3 separate regions of the Homo sapiens genome follow, and regions 1 and 3 are each linked to region 2. Evidence: promoter capture Hi-C in 16 types of primary human blood cells and fetal thymus (Javierre and others, 2016). All regions are on one chromosome and are shown on one strand. Each heading gives the region's core, a stretch centred on a gene start or on the middle of the fragment in contact. The rest is flanking DNA. Distances are from core to core; before and after follow the strand shown. Region 1 overlaps ATP6V0A4 (ATPase H+ transporting V0 subunit a4). Region 2 holds the start of DGKI (diacylglycerol kinase iota). Region 3 overlaps ATP6V0A4 (ATPase H+ transporting V0 subunit a4).

Region 1 (3,212 bases), core at 713-3,212, 910 kb after region 2:
TCCCAAAGTGCTGGGATTACAGGCATGAGCCACCATGCCCAGCCTATTTTTTTTTTTTTTTTTTTTTTTTTGAGATAGGGTCTCACTCTGTTCCCTAGGCTGGAGTGCAGTGGTGTGATCATAGCTCACTGCAGCCTTGACCTCCTGGGCTCAAGTTGTCCTCCCACCTCAGCCTCCTAAGTAGCTGGGACTACCGGTGTGTGCCACCACACTTGGTTAACTTTTTTTTGTAGAGATGTTTTCTTGCTATGTTGCCCAGGCTGGTCTCAATCCCCTGACCTCAAACGATCCTCCCACCTTGGGCTCCCAAAGCGCTGAGATTACAGGCATAAGCCACCATGCCTGGCCTGGAATTTGCATTTTAACAAGATCCCCGGGTGACCTCTATGCTCGCGTGCACATTGAAGCTTGAGAAGCTGACCTCAATCAGTTCTCAGTTCTTTAAGACACAGCTGCCGCCTAGGATAGTACTAGTATAACTAAGTTCTAGAGAAAAGTATAGCTATGTCTCTGGGAAGAATAAACCAGTTATGAGGTGTTGACAAGAATCAGTCCTTGAACTGACCTTTCAAATATATATTTTTAAAAAGGAACAAAGTAAAAGGGAAGGAAAAAAAGGAGAAAAAAAGGAAATAGATATTAGTCTCATCAAACTAAAGATCCCCCATGTTTTGGGAGAACGAAGCGCTTCTGCTGAGGGCTATGGGAAGTCTCAGAGAAAGTTTTTGCAGCCCAAGGTTCCCACCGTCACAGGATCCTCCAGAGGGGCGTCCATCTCACTGAACTTCAAGTACACGTTTCCTCGGCAGATTCGCCACAGTAACCGCTCAAAGGAAGCCATCCTCTCCCTGTTGATCACACCGGCTATGAACCTAGGCAGCCAGAAGGGAAGACATTCCTTAAGGCACAGGGATTGGGATGCAGAGAGAAGGCCCTGTAGGACGTGAAGACACACCATGAAAGGAAGGGCCATTCACTCTGTGAGCAGGAGGGACCCCGACACAGCTCTACCGACATGAGTCCCAAGGCCACCCCGCATCCAGCCCTGACTTGCCCCAAGTCCCTTTGACCTTCTGTTTTCTTTGGTATCTTGAAATATCCTTAATCATTCCAATACTATATCGTCACTAATTGCAATTAAGAATATGATAGAATGGCCAGGCGCCGTGGCTCACACCTGTAATCCCAGCACTTTGGGAGGCTGAGGCGGGCGGATCACCTGAGGTCAGGAGTTCGAGACCAGCCTGGCCAACATGCTGAAACCCCATCTCTACTAAAAATACAAAATTAGCCACACCTGGTGGCGTGCACCTATAGTCCCAGCTACTCAGGAGGCTGAGGTAGGAAAATCACTTGAACCTGGGAGGCGGAGGTTGCAGTGAGCCAAGAATGTGCCATTGCACTCCAGCCTGGGCAGAGAAGGGTGAAACTCTGTCTCAAAAAAAAAAAAAAAAAAAAGAATATGATAGACCATTCATCATGCATTGTAGCTAATGATAGCAAATATTCAACAGTAGTCTCTATGCATTTTTCCAAAAATATTTTAATACTAAGAGGGAAAAATACATTGATGTCTATATATATCTGTTTTTTCCATTATCCAAGCATGTAGATAACTGCTGACCCAAACTTCTCATGTTAGCCAGTGACTTTCACTGGCTTATTACTTTAAATGTTCATTGATCCTGTATTACTTTCTGATCAAATATTTCCAATAAATATTTTTATTTTCATTTCAAATTCAATGCCTAGTGCCTCAAATATCAGGCCCTCAAATATTTATTGAATAAAAAATCATAAATCCCAAACTCACAATTTTCAGAAATGCTTTAAAATGCCTCAATTTCACTTAGGCACTGAACAAAATCCTACCATTTTGAATCACCACATTATTTTCATGGCTACGACACATCATATCACTGCTTCTTGGAAATAACTTGATTGCATAACTATCCCATTTCTTTTTTTTATTAAAATTTTTTTTTTTGTAGACACAGAGTCTTGCTATGTTGCTCAGGCTGATCTCAAACTCCTGGCCTCAAGTGATCCTCCTGCCTCAGCTTCCCAAAGTGCTGGGATTATAGGCATAAGCCACCACATCTGACCCCCATTTCTAATTACATTTAAAAATGTATCCCGGGCAACACAGTGAGGCCTTGTCTCTACTAAAAAATTTTTTAAAAATTAGCCTGGCATTGTGCCTGTGGTCCAGCTACTCGCGAGGCAGAGGTAGGAAGATCACTTGAGCCTGAGAGGTCAAGGCTGCAGTGAGCTATGATTGCACCTCTGCACTCCAGCCTGGGCAACAGAGTGAGAGCCCGTGTCAAAAAAAAACACACAAATTCAGGCCAGGTGCGGTGGATCACACCTGTAATCCCAACACTTTGGGAGGCCAAGGCAGGCGGATCACGAGGTCAGGAGATCGAGACCATCCTGCCTAACACGGTGAAACCCCGTCTCTACCAAAAACACAAAAAAATTAGCCGGGTGTGGTGGCAGACGCCTGTAGTCCCAGCTACTCGGCTGAGGCAGGAGAATGGCGTGAACCTGGGAGGCGGAGTTTGCAGTAAGTCGAGATCAGGCCACTGCACTCCAGCCTGGACGACAGAGCAAGACTCTGTTTCAAAAAAAAAAAAAATTCAAACTCCAAATGCATTTTATTATCAAAGTAATATTTTATTTTATTTTCTTGAGCTGGAGTCTTGCTCTGTCGCCCAGGCTAGAGTGCAGTGGCACGATCTTGGCTCACTGCAACCTCTACCTCCAGGGTTCAAGCGATTCTCCTGCCTCAACTTCCTAAGTAACTGGTATTACAGGCACGTGCGACCATGCCTGACTAATTTTGTATTTTTAGTAGAGATTGGGGTTTCACTATGTTGCCCAGGCTGGTTTCAAACTCCTGACCTCAAGTGATCCACCCACCTCAGCCTCCCAAAGTACTGGGATTACAGGTGTGAGCCACCACGCCCGGCTCCCAAAATAGTATTTTAAAGAGAAAGGAAAAACATAAGTCCCCATAGCCTTGTTCCAACGCCAGGGAAGAGTTGTGATAACCCATCTGAACAATGATCCCCACAGCTTCCAATGGGGGAGCAATATAAACATTGCAGTCTTCAGGCTCAAGGAGGTCAGCATCGCCACTAACAAGAAGCTGACACCACTTCCGACTCCACCAACCTAGTAAGTTACATATGGGTCTATCGCTTGGCAGA
Region 2 (3,174 bases), core at 482-2,981:
GACTGTGGCCTCCAGGCCAGGCGATGTCTATGGGGATCCCAATTATTCACACACCTGCCCCCATAAATAAAACACACCCTCCCAAACCCACACACCTCTGTCATCTGCGTTTGCTTACATAACAGCACATGGTGTGACAGGCTTAATACTTTATATGGTTTTTGGGAAGGGAACACTAACTCAGAAAGAGTAGGGTTACAAGAATGTTTTCACTGACCCCTTTTCCAGAAACCCTCTGAGCTCCAGCAAGTGTACATCTTTGTAAACCTATGCTTGCATATCACCTCGACCTTTAACATCGATAAGCAGTAGGGTTAGTGTCAACAACTCTCCAAACCTGTCAATGTCTTTATTCTTGCCTGCGGAAGGGAGGGGTGAGAGAGACCTTAATAAATCCTAATTCCTCGTTGTTGGATTCTAATACAATGTGGGGTTATCTTTTATCCTAATTTAAAGGCCATTGATCCCACACTGTCCTTGTCTTACACATACACTCATCCTTAGGTGCAAATATGGTCCCCACTCTCACCTTCACCCCTAGCTTGCCAGCGGGCTCCCCACACCCTCCTCCAGCCAGGAGAGAGGCAAGGAGCACGCAGGCATGGAGCCCCCATAACCAGTGGCGCATCTACAGACATAAACCCACTCTTCCTTCATGGGGGATTTCGAGGCAGGTCCAACTTCCATAAGGATTTCTCTTCAGTGTAGTGCTATTCTTTTCTGCCTGTCGGAGTGATCTCAGCTGTCAAGTTAGTGCCAAAGGTTCATCCAGCGAAATCTGGAAGGTGGGGGAAGGGTGGTTGAAGATGACACCTGCTTAGGGGCAACTTTGACGACTTCTCTTAAGAAAACTAAGCATCACTGAGTCTGCAACCCTTTCTCTCTCTCTCTTTCTCTCTCTCTCTCTCTCTCTCTCTCTCACACACACACACACACACACACACACACACACACACACACAGACAAAATTTCTGTTGCTCTGACCTTAGGGACCCAGTGCTTCTCTCCTGCCACAGGGGAAAGCAGGCGTTGCTGCCCTCCAGCCTGGAATGATAGGATGGGGAGAAGACAGACATCCCCGGGAGGAGAGGGGGAAAGGGGGAAGGAGAGGCGTGGAAACAGAGAGGTGCCCAACTCCGCGGAAGCGCCCCTTGCTGGGTAGAAGAGTGGGTCTCCCGCCGCGGCGCACCTGTCTCGGCTGCCGGCTCCCCGCACCTACCTGTACGAGACCTGCTTCCGGAAAGTTAAGTTCCTCAGCTTCTCCTCCAGCGCTTCGTCCTTCTCCTTCTGGCCGGCGGCCGCGGGCTCGTCCAGGGCAGCGGCCCCCGCCGCCGCGGCTGACCCTGCGCCCCGCGGGTCCGCGCCGCCCTCGGCGCCCAGGCAGCAGCTCCCGGCGCCGCTTCCGCTGCTGCTGCTGCCGCCCGTCGCCCCTTTCTCCTCTCCCGCCGAGGAGCTGGGGTTCATGGCGCCCGCTCCGGCGGCCGCGGAGGGAGCGCAGGCGGCGCCGCTGCAGGGGCCGGGCGGGCTGGCGGCGGCGGCGGCGGCGGCTGCAGGAGCGCGGGCAGGTCCGCGCGCCGCTGGCAGGGGCAGCAAATGGCAGCCCCTTCCCGCAGCATCCATCCGCGGCTGCACCGCACCGGGGCATTGTGGGAAACTCCGCTCACTCCCCCGCCCCGGCCAATCAGAGGCCGCCGCTCCCCGCCTCCCGCGCCCTCCCGCGCCGGCCCGCACCCTCCAGCCCCGCCGGCCTCTTCCTAAATCCCGAGCGAAAGCCCAAGCTGAACATGAACTCTGCCCGGAGGCGACGGGCTGCGGCGGAGGGGGAGAGAGAGGAGGACAGGCTGCGACCCCGGGCTGGGGACGCCAGGGCAGGGACAGCGAGCATCAGGAAGGAGAGCGTCCGGGGAACTCGAGTGGCCGCGCCCTGGGTCCTGCACCGTGAGGCTGGGGGGACCAGGACCGGCGGGCGCCCACCTTGGTCCTGAGCCCAGCTGCCGACGCTGGGCCAGCACCCTCTCCACCGCCGCCCTCCAGTGAGCAGAGCTGGGCTCAGGCAGCAGCCCCTGGGCGCGGGAAGGTAGCGGGAGCTGCATTTAGGGGAGGGGGGAGGTAGCAGGAGCTCCGCCAGTGGGAACCTTGGAGTGAATTCGTCGGCGGGTGCCAAGTCGAAGCGCCGACCTCCTGTCTCTGGACTGGGGCCCGGACCCCTGCGTCCCCAAACTGCGTCCCCGCCTTGCTCGTCGCCCGGTGCCTTCCTTAGGCGCAGCAGACCCTCGGTAAACAGCGGTTAATTCGATGGAATCGGATCACAGGGCCCTCGGTGAAGCAGAAAGGCGGAGGAAATCCAGGAGGCAGAAGTGAGGACCCTGGCGCCTGGCGCCGCTGCGTTGTTCGTATAAGAAGAGGCATCCCGGAAGGGGCTTCAAACCACTTAGGACCGACTGCTGAAACGAATCCAAGCTTGTGGTGTCTGCAGAATTTAACTGTCCGCCTCAACCCCAGTTTTTGTTTCTAAGATTATCGAAAACTGTGCGGTTTGAGTGATGTGCTACAAAGTGTTTAAAACAGATTGTTTCCCAAATTAGGGGTTTCCACACAAGAAATCGCTGCTGTCGGCAAACACAGGAACTATCTATGGTTAAGACAAGGTGGTGTTCGTAACCAAACTATAAACCTACATATACGAGGTGGTAAGAGAACCAGACCAATGAACAGTTTCAGGCTGGCGTGGTGTGCCCGTGAACAAAGAATTGTAATACTGGCAAAAATCTAAATTGCTTTCTTTCCCTTTATTTTCTCATCACTAAAATTAGGAAAATGAACAGATATGTCAAATCTCTTCTAACACCCATGTTCTGTAACTCTCCTCGTATGTACCTTATAATAAGACAAAGGTAAAGACATTTCCATGTGCAGCGAGGAAAAGTAATAATAAAAATTAAAACAACTAGCAAGTATGAAGCCCTCTTTTTATACGGTATGTGCTGTATAAGCACTTCCCTCATCCACCTCTATGTTTTCACAGCACCTCTCAAGGGCTTGGACACGTGCAAATGCAAACTGGCAAAGCCAGGAGTCAAGCCAGGCTGCTCAGTGGCCTTTGTGCTTCACCCCAGTTTAATGCACCCGTCTTCAGAAGGGACATCGTGTATTAGGTGCTTCAACACAAGATCC
Region 3 (3,562 bases), core at 598-3,097, 950 kb after region 2:
GTAATATTGAGATGGAGAACTTTGGATATGCATTTTTGTGCTCATCTTTGGTTATTTCCTTGGGGATGAAATTTCTAAAGGGCTACACCATAGAAGGAAAGGTATCCAAAATAAACTGACACACATCGTCTCAATTCCTGAGACCGGAATGACATGATAGCAGATTTGTGTTGCCCCCAAGCACTCGATTAAAGCAACAACAACAAAAATCATGTCTACAGGAAGAAAGCATTATCCTGGGTCTCAAGTTATTTCTATAAACAATAGTATGTAATTGCAATTTTGCCCACAATAAAAAATAACCAGGTATGCAAAGAAACATGATCATATGAATGAAAACAGCAGAAATAATAGACAATGGAAATAAACGAATGGGAAAAGAATGGCGAAGACTGAGGTTATCAGACACGGATTTTAAAGGAATTATATCCCCTCTGTTTATGAAGATGAAAAACAGGACTGAATAGTTTGGCAGAAAAAAAAATATAAAAAAGAACAGAATGGAAATTCTGGAACTAAAACTAAGATAATCGAAATTAAGAACCCAATGGGTAGTTATAAAAGAGGATTAGACACAGATGACAAGAGATTTCATAAAAGACTGGGCAAAAGGCAATATCCAGAGTAAAACACAGGAAAACAAAAAGATAAAGAATAAAGAAGAAGGTAAGAGAATTACAGGATGGAGTGGAAAGATCTAACCTATGTGTAATCAGTCACAAAAAGAGAGGAGAGAATGGTTCACAAGTAGTATTTGATGGCTGAGAAGTTTTCAAAACTTATTAATAACATCAAGCTCCATATCCAATTGCCTACAAACTCCAAAGAGGACAAAAAAGGAATCCATACTTCAGCACATCAGAGTAAAACTGCTGAAAACCAAAGGCAAAGAAAAATTTAAAAACAGCCAAAAAATAAAAGAGGCAAATTATCTGCAATGAAGCCCCAGTGAGGTGGACAGTTCTCAACAGAAACAATGGTAGCCAAAAGAAATGAAATGTTATCTTTAAAGCACTGAAAGAAAATATCTGCCAACCTTACATTTTGTACCCAATGAAGGTGATTTCCAAGAATGAAGGAAGAATAAAAACATATCCAGACAAACAAAGTAACATGTTAATCACTCCACTGAGGGAATACTAAATGGTATTCTTCAAAGAGAAGGAAAATGATCACAGATGGAAGACCAGACATGCAGAAATAAATTAAGAACAATAAACCGGTAAACATGTAAATAAATTTAATAAATTTCACTCATATATTCACTTGGAAAATAATAATAATAATGACTTATTGAGTTAAAAACTATGTGTATAACTAACATACATGACTACAATGGTATAAAAATCAGGAGTGGATAGGCCAGGTGTGGTGGCTCACGCCTGTAATCCCAGCACTTTGGGAGGCCGAGGTGGGCAGATCACGAGGTCAGGAGATCGAGACCATCCTGGCTAACACGGTGAAACCCCATCTCTACTAAAAATACAAAAACTTAGCTGGGCGTGGTGGCGGGCACCTGTAGTCCCAGCTACTCGGGAGGCTGAGGCAGGAGAATGGCGTGAACCCAGGAGGCAGCTTGCAGTGAGCCGAGATAGCGCCACTGCACTCCAGCCTGGGCGAGTGGGTAAATGGAGTTAAAGTTCTGAGGTCTTCATATTATCTATGAAAGTGGTGAAAGTGTCAATTAATATTAGACTTTGATATGTTAAGAATGCACTTGTGAGAACATATATTCAGGGTAACTTGGATCTATGCTCCTGGGTTGCAGAATAAAATAATCTTAAAAAGCAACAAAAAAGGAATGCATGTCGTAATCTCTACAAAATGGAATAACCCAACAACTCAATCCAAAAGTAGTGAGAAGAAAGAGAAAAGGAACATAAGCTAGATGGGAAGAGTAGAGAGCACTTGGTAAGCTGATAGATTGATTTGTTTGTTTTTAAATTTTAGAGACAGGGTCTCACTCTGTCACCCAGTCTGGAGTGTAGTGACTCCATCATGGCTCCCTGCCATCTCGGATCTCCTGGGCTCAAGCAATCCTCCTATCTCAGCCTCCTGAGTAGCTGGGACCACAGGCTTGCATCACCAAACTCAGGTTTGTTTTTTTTTTTGTTGTTTTGTTTTTTTTTTTGTAGCAACAGAGTTTCACTATGTTGCCCAGGCTGGTCTCACAGTCCTGGGCTCAAGAAATCCTCCCATCTTGAACAGGGTTTTAGAAAAGTTGAAAGTAATATGATGGGAAAATGATTTAGCATGCCAAACAAAACAAAAGAAACCTGTTATAGCTACAGCAATATCAGACAAAGTAAAGTTTATGGCAAAAAAACATTACTAGAGATAAAGAAGGCTGGGCGCAGTGGCTCACACCTGTAATCCCAGCACTTTGGGAGGCTGAGACGGGAGTCTCACCTGAGGTCAGGATTTCAAGACCAGCCTGGCCAACATGGTGAAACCCCTGTTTCTACCAAAAATACAAAAATTACCCGGGGGTGGTGGCACACGCCTGTAATCCCAGCTACTCAGGAGACTGAGGAAGAAGAATCGCTTGGACCCGGGAGGTGGAAGTTGCAGTGAGCCGAGATCGTGCCACTGCATTCCAGCCTGGGCGACAGAGAGAGACTCCATCTCAAAAATATAAAAGAGATGAGGGATATTACACAATGATTTTTTAAAAGAAGGTTCAATTTGCCAGGAAGTTGTCAAAATTCCGTATTTGTTTGTACCTCAATTACAGCCTCAAATATTGAATGCAAAAGTTGACAAAACTACAGGGAAGAAAGAAACCCGCAATCATCTCTGTATTCAACAGAATAATTAGACCAAATTTTAAAAGACAGGAAAAATATGGATGTTCTGAACCACACAATTAGCACTCTTGATCTAATGGACTTACCCGGAGCACTGACCCCACAACTGCATGACACATTCAAGAGCCACAAAAATTGGTCATATGGTGTCTTTTAACTAACATCAAAAAATAGAAATCATCAAAGTATATTCGCAGGTCACAGTGCAACTAAGCTACAAATCAATAACAAAAAGATAACTAGAAAACCTCCGTATGTTTGGAAATTAAGAAATATACTTCAGAGAAGATGGGAGGGAATAAGATACAGGACCTAGGTGGAAGGTTGTTTTCGCCAAGAGGAAGGACCTCCTTTGTGTTAACCTCCGCGTGTCTGGACCATAGCTGCACCGCCTCCCAGTGCAATTTTGAACAAGCTAAATTAGTCATCCTGGGAAGTGTTCAAAAATTATTCCAAATGGTGGACTCCAGGACTTCCTTGCTGACTTTCTTACTTTGATCAACTAACTCTATGGCATGATCTTAACAGCTGTAGTTCTCAAGGTTTCCTAAAAGGGAACCTCTTGTTCTCTCCAAATTACAGACCCATCACTGAAGGGCAGGGAGTGAGGTTAACTCCTCCACAAACTAAGTGCTGCTCAGGTCCACATCTAGATGTTTCGGTCCCACAACCACCCAGAGCCTGACATTATTTTGTAAAAACAGATCCTGACAGAGCCAGGAGCAAGAAGAGCCATCAACCCCATCTCTGTGAGG

The links. The method cuts DNA at HindIII sites, captures the fragments that hold promoters and counts their contacts. A CHiCAGO score of 5 or more calls a contact.
Region 1: a contact is called between a fragment that was not itself captured here and the fragment with the promoter of DGKI in region 2, in 3 of 17 cell types (neutrophils, naive B cells and monocytes). The highest score is 6.0, in neutrophils.
Region 3: a contact is called between a fragment that was not itself captured here and the fragment with the promoter of DGKI in region 2, in 1 of 17 cell types (neutrophils). The highest score is 5.2, in neutrophils.

The regions. Positions count from the first base shown.
Region 1 is chr7:138,759,007-138,762,218 of GRCh38, forward strand. It overlaps ATP6V0A4 (ATPase H+ transporting V0 subunit a4), which reads right to left. Exons shown (of 22, transcript NM_020632.3): 8 at 746-872. Among named protein-coding and RNA genes, the nearest start is that of TMEM213, 37 kb to the right of the region's middle. The HindIII fragment of the contact is 3,114 bases long and covers 406-3,212 here.
Region 2 is chr7:137,845,243-137,848,416 of GRCh38, forward strand. DGKI (diacylglycerol kinase iota) reads right to left here and starts at 1,732. Exons shown (of 33, transcript NM_001321708.2): 1 at 1,220-1,732. The coding sequence starts at 1,620. RefSeq lists an enhancer at 571-1,072 and silencers at 1,707-1,756, 2,241-2,535. The HindIII fragment of the contact is 3,155 bases long and covers 1-2,458 here.
Region 3 is chr7:138,790,667-138,794,228 of GRCh38, forward strand. All of the region lies in intron 1 of ATP6V0A4 (ATPase H+ transporting V0 subunit a4), which reads right to left. Among named protein-coding and RNA genes, the nearest start is that of TMEM213, 5.5 kb to the right of the region's middle. The HindIII fragment of the contact is 3,739 bases long and covers 1-3,562 here.